4 separate regions of the Homo sapiens genome follow, and all the other regions are linked to region 2. Evidence: promoter capture Hi-C in 16 types of primary human blood cells and fetal thymus (Javierre and others, 2016). All regions are on one chromosome and are shown on one strand. The core of a region is centred on a gene start or on the middle of the fragment in contact, and the rest is flanking DNA. Distances in the headings are between cores, read along the strand shown.

Region 1 (2,700 bases), core at 131-2,630, 290 kb after region 2:
ATAAACATATGTTGAGTAAATAAATGCTGAGTAACAGTGATTAGGAAACGTTTTATCTAGCAAGAACTAAATTTATTTACTTTAATTTAACTTAATTCATGTATTTATTTTGAGACAGAGTCTCGTTCTGTTGGCCAGGCTGGAGTGCAGTAGCGCAATCTTCACTCACTGCAACCTCCATCTCCCAGGCCCAAGCAATCCTCCTGCCTCAGCCTCCCAAGTAGCTGCCATTACAGGCATGTGCCACCACGCCCGGCTAATTTTTTTTTTTTTTTTTTTAGTATATTTAAATAGTGCATTATTCAAGTAGCTAATTTTTTGTGTGTGTGTATTTTTAGTAGAGACGGGGTTTCACCATGTTAGCCAGGCTGGTCTCAAACTCCTGAACTCAGGTAATCCGCCCACCTTGGCCTCCTAAAATGCTGGGATTACAGGCATGAGCCACCGTGCCTGGCCTTACTTTTATTATTTTATCTATACTATAAAGTTATATATATTTTTTGTTATTGAAATAAAAAATGTCAAAATTCTAAATGATATCAAAATGATATAAGAATAATATAATGTGATGGTAGATCCCCCAACTTGAATCATTCACAGAGCTCCTGTTAATGGGTCATTGTCTGTCTTCCTGGACCAGCTCTGTCCAATAGTAATCTAAATTCAAGCCACATATGTAATTTAAAAATGTTTAGTAGCCATATTAAAAACTGAAAGAAACAGGTAAAATAAATTCATCTTTTTATTTTTTTCTGGAGCCGGAGTTTCGCTCTTGTTGTCCAGGCTAGAGTGCAATGGCACGATCTCGGCTCACTGCAACCTCCGCCTCCTGGGTTCAGGTGATTCTCCTGCCTCAGCCTCCCGAGTAGCTGGGATTAGAGGCGTGCGCCACCATGCCCGGCTAATTTTCTGTTTTTAATAGAGACAGGGTTTCTCCATGTTGGTCAGGCTGGTCTCAAACTCCTGACCTCAGGTGATCCACCCGCCTCGGCCTCCTAAAGTGCTGGGATTACAGGTGTGAGCCACTGCGCCCGGCCCAAATTAATCTTAATAATGTACTTTATTTAACTCAGTATCTTTAAAATATTATCACTTCAATGTATAATCAGTATATTTTACTACAGCATTATTTTTATGATACCAAGTCTTCAAAATCTAGTGTATAATTTACCCATATACCCCTACTTAGATGCTAAATTTTCATTGGAAATACTTGATTTGTGTCTATTTAGAGTTCATAACATTTATGGTTGTACAAGTAGATTTGCCTACTATGAATTACTACGAACCTATTTGCCAGGTTGTTACAAATATATGTTTTCTAGTAAATAGATCAAATATTTTAAATTATGAGTAGTTGAAATTTAAAAACTAAATTTTCAGGCTGGACATAGTGGCTTACACCTGTAATCCTAGCACTTTGGGAGGCCGAGGTGGGCAGATCATTTGAGGTCAAGAGTTTGAGACCAGCCTGGCCAACATGGTGAAAACCCATCTCTACTAAAAAATTAGCCTGGCATGGTGGCATGCGCCTGTAATCCCAGCTACTTGGGAAGCTGAGGCACGAGAATCACTTGAACCCTGGAGGCAGAGGTTGCAGCGACCCAAGATCGCACCACTGCGCTTCAGCCTGGGTGACAGAACGAGACTCTGTCTCAAAAAAAAAAAAAAAAAAGGCCGGGCGCGGTGGCTCACGCCTGTAATCCCAGCACTTTGGGAGGCCGAGGCGGGTGGATCATGAGGTCAGGAGATCGAGACCATCCTGGCTAACAAGGTGAAACCCCGTCTCTACTAAAAATACAAAAAATTAGCCGGGCGCGGTGGCGGGCGCCTGTAGTCCCAGCTACTCGGGAGGCTGAGGCAGGAGAATGGCGTGAACCCGGGAAGCGGAGCTTGCAGTGAGCCGAGATTGCGCCACTGCAGTCCGCAGTCCGGCCTGGGCAACAGAGCGAGACTCCATCTCAAAAAAAAAAAAAAAAAAAAAAAAAATACGTATATATATATACATATATATATATATATGTATATATATATACGTATTTTTTTTTACCCAATTTTGTTATTTAGGTTTACCAAAATGTGATTAGTTTCTTTTCTTTTCTTTTCTTTTTTTTCAGACAGAGTCTCACTTTGTCACCCAGGTTAGAGTGCAGTGGCTGATCAGCCTTCCAATTCCCAAGTAGCTGGGACTACAGGGGAGTGCTACCATACCAAGCTAATTTTTGTATTTTTTGTAGAGATGGGGTTTGCCATATTGCCCAGATTGGTCTTGAACTCCTGGGCTCAAGGGATCTGCCCACCTGAGCCTCCCAAAGTGTTGGGATTACTGGTGTGAGCCATTGTGCCCTGCTTGATTAGTTTATTTTTTATCCACTGTTCTGCAACTTTTTCCCTACTGAACGATATTTATAAGTTAATATATAGTTGTTCTCATTCTTTTGAATAATGCACTATTTAAATTTTTCATTATTATATAATGATACAGTCAGGTCTCTATATTTGCGGGTTCTGCACCTGCAGATTCAACCAAGCATGGATTGAAAAATCTTTTTAAAATAATAATAATATACCAGGCGAGGTGGCTCACGCCTGTAATCCTAGCACTTTGGGAGGCCGAGGCGGGCAGATCACTTGAGGTCAGAAGTTCAAAACCAACCTGGCCAGCATGGTGAAACTCCATCCCTACTAAAAGTACAAAAA
Region 2 (2,700 bases), core at 152-2,651:
TAAATGGATAAGAGGTCAGCTATGAAGTAAAAAGGAAGTCAGGGAGACCCAGGAGCCTTTCCTGAGCATTGCTGAACAAGTGCACAAACACTTCATCTTCCAAGGACAAAACAAGCATTTATCAGAGGCCTACTGGACACCCTGCCTCCACTCCTGCCCCCTCCAATCCAAGTTCCAAACTGCAGCCAGAGTGACCTTCTAAAAACACAAACTTGTCATGATGATGAAATTTGCAAAGTGCTGACTGACACTACTGGTACGTGGTAAGTACTATAAAATGCCCGTTACATAAACACAGTACATATAATGCCATTCCTTGTTTAAACCCCTCCAAGGATCACATGCAACCTTCTCTGCCTGCCTCTGCCTTCTACTTCCCACCGTGCTCTCTCTTGCTAGCCTTACTCCGGGTCGCATTTAATTCCTCCGGAGCCAAGCTACCTCCTGGCCCAACCAAATGCCTTTCCCTCTTTCCTTAAAGCAGTCTCCCCAGATCCACTCCTCTTCATTTGACCAGTTTCAACTCCTTCTTTATATCTCAGCTTAAATGCTGCTTCTTCAGCCCTCCTGAACCTCCCAGAGGAAGCTTAGGTTCCTCCATATTTATCCTCTTATAGCCATAACATTGATCACAACTGTAATCACATACTCCATGTTTTAGGTTGTTTAATGCCTGCCTCCCTTACTAGGCTGTAGACTCCCCAGGACAAGGGCTATAGGTCTTTCCGTCTCTCTTGTTTACGGCCTATCAAGGAACTCGGACAGCATAGGTCACTAATGAACATTTCCGAATGCATACAAACTTTAAAATACGGTCTTGTTTAGGTAACCGGCCCAAAGTCGCACAAATGACCCAATATTTGAACCCACGACATTCTGGCTTTGAAGCCCAAGGTCTGACTCCAGCAGACTGCCCCCTCCTCTCCCTCAAAGCCGGAGCCAAACGGTGGGCTGGGAGGGGACTTGAGCGGCAGAGTCTGAGGATCTGCAGAGGGCCACGCGCTGCAAGGCAGTCAGTGCCGCGCGCGCTGGCCTCGGGCCCAGGAGAAGGGGCATCCGTCACGTGTACCCGGCAGGGCCAGCTTTCGCCGCACCCTGGGGCAGGAATGCAGCCCCGCCCAGCTCCCGCGCCAGCAAAACCGCGCTGGCCCTGGGGACTGACGTCAATGAAGGGGGCGCCTCGGGCGCCGCGCGGGGGCGGAGAGGGCGGTGGGCAGGGCCCGGGCAGACACGCCCCCTCACCGCCGCTCCGCCGCCGATTAGGTTTGAGGAAGCTTCGCACTCCGCTTTCGAGGCCAGCGGAGGCGGGGGGCGGGGATGGACACGCCCCCTCCCTGTCTCCCACCGATGATTGGCGCACGGAACTCCGCCTTGGGTTTGGAAGGCTCGCCTGGGAGCTCATACCTGGCTAGGGCCGAGGATTGGCTGTTCCGGGGCTAGGGAGCGCTTTCTCCCGGGAACCGCGGCTGTGACCCAAGTGGCCCGGACCAGTTTGGGGCTGCGTGCGGCCTGCCTCAAGCAACCAGGTACGTAGGTCGGCGGCCCAGCTCGGCGCTGCGGTGGGAGCCGGAGGGCGACAGTCAGAGCCGGGGTGCCAGCGGGACGCGACCGCCAGATCCACTTAGGACCCCGTCGTTCTGCGAAGCGGCCACGTCTGAGTCCCGGGGCCTCCTCGTGCTGCAGATGTCGCCTTAGGACCTCGGCCAGGATACCCTCTGCCATGCTCTTGTGCTGCCCGTGATCACCGACTGGCCCTTGTAAGCACCTTCGCAGAGCTGCGCCTGCCCTTTCTGAAGGCTGTGGAAGAGGTTGGAGTGGGCGCATCTTAGCTTGCCCCATCCCCATTTGAGGTCTGTCGGAGCTGCCCTTCAGTGTGGTGAGTACCTGCTCCAATTCTCCACCGGGCAGTGGAGTGCAGAGGGTACAGAGGCTAGCTTGGGAGTCCTGACTTTGGATCCCTCCCTGCTCCTTCCACAATCTACAGAAGCAGATAGCCTCCGAAAGGCTTCTGGGACCGACCTTCCCCAGAAGACCTCCTCAGCCATCTGGCAGGAACAAAAATAACAGTGGCTTGAGAGCCCGGGTGCTGGGGTCAGACTGCCTGGGTTCATGTCCCAGCTTCCATCACCTGCCAGCTGTGTGACTTTGGGTGTAGCTTTCTCATCTGTAAAATGGGTATAACAATAGTGCCACCTTAAGTGAGGAGGAAAGAAAGCACCCATCTGAACGTGCTCTGTTCTGCGCTTGACACTGAACAAGCTGCCTCTATGATTTTAATCATAAAGCTATGATTTAAAAGTACACAGATTTGTTGATGGCTGTGATGATGAAAATGACAATGATTCTATAGCCCCTGGTAGTCAAACAGCCTTTCCCTTCATCATTTATTCATTCAACCAGCATGCATAGAATGTCTGTGGTATACCAGGTACTAGAAGGAATGCCGTCACAAACTTAATCTCCCTTTTCCTGTTAAGAGTTATTTATACTCACCATTTATTTTAAAAAGCTTATTTAAAATTTTATAGAGGCAGTCTTGCTATGTTGACCAGGCTGGTCTGGAACTCCTGGGCTCAAGCAATCCTCCCACCTCAGCCTCCCAAAGTGCTGGGATTACAGGCGTGAGCCACCAGGCCTGGCCTTATACTATTTTGATGACGAGCAACTTGTGGCAGGGGAAACTGAGACTTATCCAAGGTC
Region 3 (2,700 bases), core at 24-2,523, 370 kb after region 2:
CTGACTTGTACGTTTGAGGTGCGCTCTGTAAAATCTGCCTTAAATAGGGCCAAAGTCCTTCATTCCAAATATTTTGGCCCTCAACCCCAGTTACCCGCGAAACACTCGCGATTTTTCGGTTCCTCGTCATTAGCTTTTTACTCTCGCTTCCAAAAGCCAGAGTTCTCCACCAGCCTGAGTAGAACTGCAGCCCTCAAGGGAACCCCTTGCCCTCCAGTCTGAGGCTGGCGCTGTGGCCACCCCGGGCGTGTTAGCTGCCAGGCACAAGAACGCCGTCGCCAGTTCTGAGCTGCGCCCTCCCGGAGGCGCCAGGGTCACTGCAGGCCGCGCGAGGGCTGCGAGGCGAAGGGGGTTCATGCACCGGGGCCGACAGAGGTCCCAGGAGCGGGCGTTGGGGAAGCTTTGCACGTAACTGCAGCCGTCGCGAATGAAGCCTTCGCACGGCCTCCTTGATGAGGTTTCCAGAGAGCACTAGCTGCTGCAGAAGCCGGTGCGGGTCGTCGTCGCCTGTGCGGGTTTCTGGTTGGGACCCGCGTCGCTGCTGCAGGCGGCGGGAGGCGGCGGCGCCCCGGAGCCATCCTCGCCGGCACGGACCCGACAGCGGCTGCGGGATGCCCTGCTTGCCAGCTCCCGGAGGCCCATCAAGGTCGGCCTGAGGGGGCAGTGGGGACAGCGCGCTGGGGCCTGTGGCGAGCTCGGCCACGCAGTAGGGCGCAGCGCGGCCCCGCACGCGGCCGCGGTCCCCCAGGGCGCAGCGCAGGACCCCAGGGGGCGCCGGGCCCACAGTCTCCGCCAACGCGGGCGGCAGCAGCAGCGGCACCGCCGGGGACCTGGCCTTGTCCGCCGGCACCGCCGCAGCCAGGGGCCCCGGGGCCCGCAGCGGCGCCCCCGGGGGCCCGCACGGCGAGGCCGGGCTGTGCTGCGCCGCGTCCAGCTGCAGCGTCTCGCCGATCTGGGCCACCAGCCGGTCCACCTCGCCCGAGCTGCCCAGCGCCACTGACTGCTGCAGTAGGAGGAAGCTGTCCTCCTCCTCTTCCTCCCCCTCCGCCTCCTCGCCGGCTTCCTCTTCCTCCTCCCTCCGGCACGGCATGGCCCCCTGTCTGGGCACCCGGAGCTGTGCGGGCGTCGCTGGGGGCTCGGCTGCCGGCGGGCGCGGTGGGCCGCGGCGGAGCGGGCGCGGAGCTGAAGACTAAGTCTGGACCGGGGCCGGGGCGGACGCGGAAGCCGGAGCCCGCCAGGCACTCTAGCCGCGCGCCTGCAGCCGCGGGAGCCGGAATCCTGCCGGCTCGGGTTGATTTGTAAACAATGGGTGACGTCACGTCGGGCCCTACCACCGCGCCGGGGAGGGGGTGCTGTGCCGCTGGGGGACGGCGCTTCTGTGGGATTGGGGGTCTGGGTGAAGCCGGACTGCCTTCTGAGCTCCTTCGCTCAGGGTGCTGTCTGCAAGGGCGCCCTGGGGACCTGATCCTGGCTCCCGCAGTCGGGCGCGATTGGCATTTCCAGAAATGGGCACCAGCGTGAACCCTGTTGGTTTCTTCCACACACAAGCAAGCACGCACACTAACACACACCCACCCACCCACACACCCCTTCTCTCCGTGCGTCAACTCAACCGGTTTTTAGCGTTTGCGCTTTTGAGGTCCGGCATGCGGGCGTCTGGTGAGGATGGAAAGGAAAGGGAGTCAGGCTAGGGATTTGTACGGAGATTAGGGAAATGAAGCTGACGGGAATGGAAAGGAAGAAGGGGACCTTGTCGTTCGATGGAGGTGGCAGAGTTGGAAATGGCAAAGAAAGGCCACAGATTAATGTTTTTTGATCGAGATCCTGGGCGGATGGGGGCCTGGACTGGGGTTGGCATTGCTGGAGAGGAGGTTGCTAGTCTTTTTGTTTATTTGTTTGTTTGTTTTTTTGAGACGGAGTCTCGCTCTATCGCCCAGGCTGGAGTGCAGTGGCTCGATCTCCACTCACTACAACCTCCGCCTCCTGCGTTTAAGCAATTCTCCTGCCTCAGCCTTCCGAGTAGCTGGGATTACAGGCGCCCACCACCACGCCCGGCTAATTTTTGTATTTTTAGTAGAGACGGGGTTTCACCATGTTGGCCAGGCTGGTCTCGAACTCCTGACCTCAGGTGATCCACCCGCCTCAGCCTCCCAAAGTGCTGGGATTACAGGCGTGAGCCACTGCGCCCGGCCTAGGTTGCTACTCTTTTTGTTTTGTTTTGTTTTTTTGAGACAGAGTTTCGCTCTTGTTGCCCAGGCTGGAGTACAATGGCGCAATCTCCGCTCACCACAACTTCCGCCTCCTGGGTTCAAGCAGTTCTCCTGCCTCAGCCTCCCGAGTTGCTGGGATTACAGGCATGCGCCGCCATGCCCAGCCTAATTTTGTGTTTTTAGCAGAGATGGGGTTTCTCCATATTGGTCAGGCTGGTCTGGTACTCCCGACCTCAGGTGATCCACCTGCCTCGGCCTCCCAAAATCCTGGGATTACAAGCGTGAGCCACCACGCCTGGCTATAGGTTGTTAGTCTTAAGAGGGGCTATGTCCAGAAAGTTGTTTAAAAAAAAGCCTCAGACCAGTAGGGGGGATGGGCTCTGAGGAGGTACGTAGTAGCAGAGAAAAATACCTGTTTGGATGAAAATGGAGATACGCTTCCTTCCTTCCTTTCTTCCTTTTCTTTCTCTTTCTTTTCTTTCTTTGACAG
Region 4 (2,700 bases), core at 172-2,671, 330 kb after region 2:
ATTCTTTTTTTCCCAGACAAGGGGATCTGTTTGTGTAATGTGATTCACTGGGCCAGCTTTGTTGGTCTGGAGCAGAGAAGGGCATGGCACAGAAGTCCTGAGGTCACTGTCCTGTCAGCCCAGGTCCCCTCATGTGGATACAATCCCACAGGCAGCCAGAAGCAAAGAACCCCAGCACTGTTCCCACACCCCAGTATGAGTGTGCTTTGTGCCCTAGCACCTGACTGATACATTCTTCCCATCTCAGATCCTCCCAACGTGAGGCGAGCACATGCACACATTCCTCGTTTCCATTCTAGTTTAAGGCACTTGGCTCTGATAATGGTCCCAGGAGGCCCTGTGCACCTCCTGGCAGCCTGTCCCACCACACTCTTCCACTCATTATCTAAGGGGACCCAAGTCTTAATTGGATCTGGCGCTCCCCAAATTAGGGCATTTCCTCCCAATGATTTGGGGCTAGGAAAAGCTGAAAGGAACCACACTCGGCCCAGAGGTGGCACTGTTTACATGCCTTGTTCACAGAAATCTAGAATTGGAGAGCAAGCAAGAAAGGTGGTCAGGAGTGGCTAGGAGAGATTTGCAGAGGGGATCTAACCATACTCCCCGTTGTTACACTTCTGGACACAAGTTGGGCCGAAGTAAGCCAAGCCCAGTCCTTCCTGTTTCCTTTCTCAGGAAATGTGACCACGTGCACTGGGAAGCTTTGTGTAAAGTAGATAGGGGTATGAGCCAATTGCCCAGCATTGGTGTTTTGTTTTTTGTTTGTTTGTTTGTTTTCACAGAGTCTTGCCCTGTCACCCAGGCTGGAATGCAATGGCGTGATCTCAGCTTACTGCAACCTCTGCCTCCCAGGTTCACACAATTCACCTGCCTCAGCCGCCTGAGTAGCTGTGATTACAGGCACCCGCCACCACGCCCAGCTAATTTTTGTATTTTTAGTAGAGACAGGGTTTCACCATGTTGGCCAGGCTGGTCTCGAACTCCTGACCTTGTGATCCGCCCACCTTGGCCTCCCAAAGTTCTGGGATTACAGGCGTGAGCCACTGCGCCCAGCTTATTGGTGTTGTTTGTTTGTTTTTTAAAAAAAGGCCAGGCACGGCTCATACCTGCAATCCCAGCACTTTGGGAGGCCGAGGCGGGTGGATCACCTGACCAACATGGAGAAACCCCATCTCTACTAAAAATACAAAATTAGCCAGGCATGGTGGTGCATGCCTGTAATCCCAGCTACTCGGGAGGCTGAGGCAGGAGAATCACTTGAACCCGGGAGGCAGGGGTTGGGGTGAGCTGAGATCGCATCATTGCACTCCAGCCTGGGCAACAAGAGTGAAACGCCATCTCAAAAAAAAAAAAAAAAGAAAGCGTGAAGCCAACCTCCTTGTTATATATAGCACATTTTCCAAGGAACTTTGTTTTCTTTTAAAGATGGGAAAGGCAGGTGACCTAGAAAGGTTGGTGTTAGTGATGTGCTGAATGCCATATTCTTTTGGAAGTAGACTTCAAATGCAAGTGATCTTGATGCAGAGGCAAGAATTAATCTTCACCCTGAAACTTCAGGTGTATTTTGAAAGTCAGTGTTCTTGAGGCCGGGCGCAATCACTCACACCTGTAATCTAGCACTTTGGGAGGCCAAGGCAGGTGGCTCACCTGAGGTCAGGAGTTCAAGACCAGCCTGGCCAACATGGTGAAACCCTGTCTCTACTAAAAATACAAAATTAGCTGGGTGTGGAGGCACACACTAGTCCCAGCTACTCGGGAGGCTGAGGCAGGAGAATTGCTTGAACCCGGGAGGCGGAGGTTGCAGTGAGCTGAGAGCGCGCCTTTGCACTCCAGCCTGGGTGACAAGAGCGAAACTCTGTCTCAAAAAAAAAAAAACAAAGTCAGTGTTGTTTCAACAGTGTGGCGAAAGAGAGTCTTAGGAGTGTTCATCAACAAAAGATTCATCCAATTTTAGGGTGAATAGGAAAGTTGAGAGCTCTCACTCTCCAGATTTTCAATTTGTGCTTTTGGGAATGTCAATCTGAGGCTTGCTTTTCTGGGGTCCATCCTCCACTCATTCTCAGAAATGGAAAACAGGTCCTACCCTGCTTGACTACGAAAACCGCAACCCTGCAGTTGGCCAAGGGAGTGGTCAAGCTTTGGGGATTTGCAAAGGCGGTCTAGTCATGTCCACATTGTGACACTTCTGGCCATGGGTGAGTCAGGTTAAACTGACCTTGCCCCTTCACTATTTCCCTTCTCGTGATTGTGGCAGAAGGCTTGGTGGGGACTGTCCTGGCAGTTCATTCCTGCCAGTGGCCATCTTTAGAGCTAGTCCTACTTACAGCATGATCAGTCCCAAGAAGGGTGTTTTTTCTGTACTGTTTGCAACATGTAACAAAATTGCTTATGAAGTTCAGGTAGCCTGTTTTCAGTCCTCAGAGTCCTTTCCCCATTTTTTCTTTCTTGGTTGCTTATGTTTCCTCAAAGGGTAATTTTAAAAATTAAAATCGTATATATTTCACTACAAAAGTGATAAAGATTCCCAGAACATTTGGAAAAAACAAAAGTAAAAGTAGGGGCTAAAATCCTTCCACCAAATTCTGTTATTACTAGTGCATTTCATTCTTTTTTTTCTTAATATACGTAGGGCTATTTTTTTTTTAATTAAGGAAAAAATGTAAGGCCAGGCACAATGGCTCACACCTGTAATCCCAACAC

What was found. The method cuts DNA at HindIII sites, captures the fragments that hold promoters and counts their contacts. A CHiCAGO score of 5 or more calls a contact.
Region 1: a contact is called between a fragment that was not itself captured here and the fragment with the promoter of AVPI1 in region 2, in 1 of 17 cell types (naive CD4 T cells). The highest score is 5.4, in naive CD4 T cells.
Region 3: the fragment with the promoter of FRAT1 here is called in contact with the fragment with the promoter of AVPI1 in region 2 in 9 of 17 cell types (erythroblasts, M0 macrophages, total CD4 T cells and 6 more); the score reaches 8.7 in erythroblasts.
Region 4: a fragment that was not itself captured here is called in contact with the fragment with the promoter of AVPI1 in region 2 in 1 of 17 cell types (M0 macrophages); the score reaches 5.2 in M0 macrophages.

The regions. Positions count from the first base shown.
Region 1 is chr10:97,397,329-97,400,028 of GRCh38, reverse strand. All of the region lies in intron 2 of RRP12 (ribosomal RNA processing 12 homolog), which reads left to right. Among named protein-coding and RNA genes, the nearest start is that of RRP12, 2.7 kb to the left of the region's middle. The HindIII fragment of the contact is 7,404 bases long and covers 1-2,700 here.
Region 2 is chr10:97,685,942-97,688,641 of GRCh38, reverse strand. It overlaps AVPI1 (arginine vasopressin induced 1), which reads left to right and starts at 1,401. Exons shown (of 3, transcript NM_021732.3): 1 at 1,401-1,876. RefSeq lists enhancers at 357-1,310, 378-1,577, 1,311-2,264 and a silencer at 1,035-1,414. The HindIII fragment of the contact is 1,235 bases long and covers 1,277-2,511 here.
Region 3 is chr10:97,317,844-97,320,543 of GRCh38, reverse strand. It overlaps FRAT1 (FRAT regulator of Wnt signaling pathway 1), which reads right to left and starts at 1,273. Exons shown (of 1, transcript NM_005479.4): 1 at 1-1,273. The coding sequence starts at 1,090. The coding sequence ends at 251. RefSeq lists enhancers at 1-48, 1,138-1,432, 1,170-1,959 and silencers at 389-488, 989-1,298. The HindIII fragment of the contact is 4,234 bases long and covers 403-2,700 here.
Region 4 is chr10:97,353,640-97,356,339 of GRCh38, reverse strand. No RefSeq gene overlaps it. Among named protein-coding and RNA genes, the nearest start is that of FRAT2, 20 kb to the right of the region's middle. The HindIII fragment of the contact is 1,435 bases long and covers 704-2,138 here.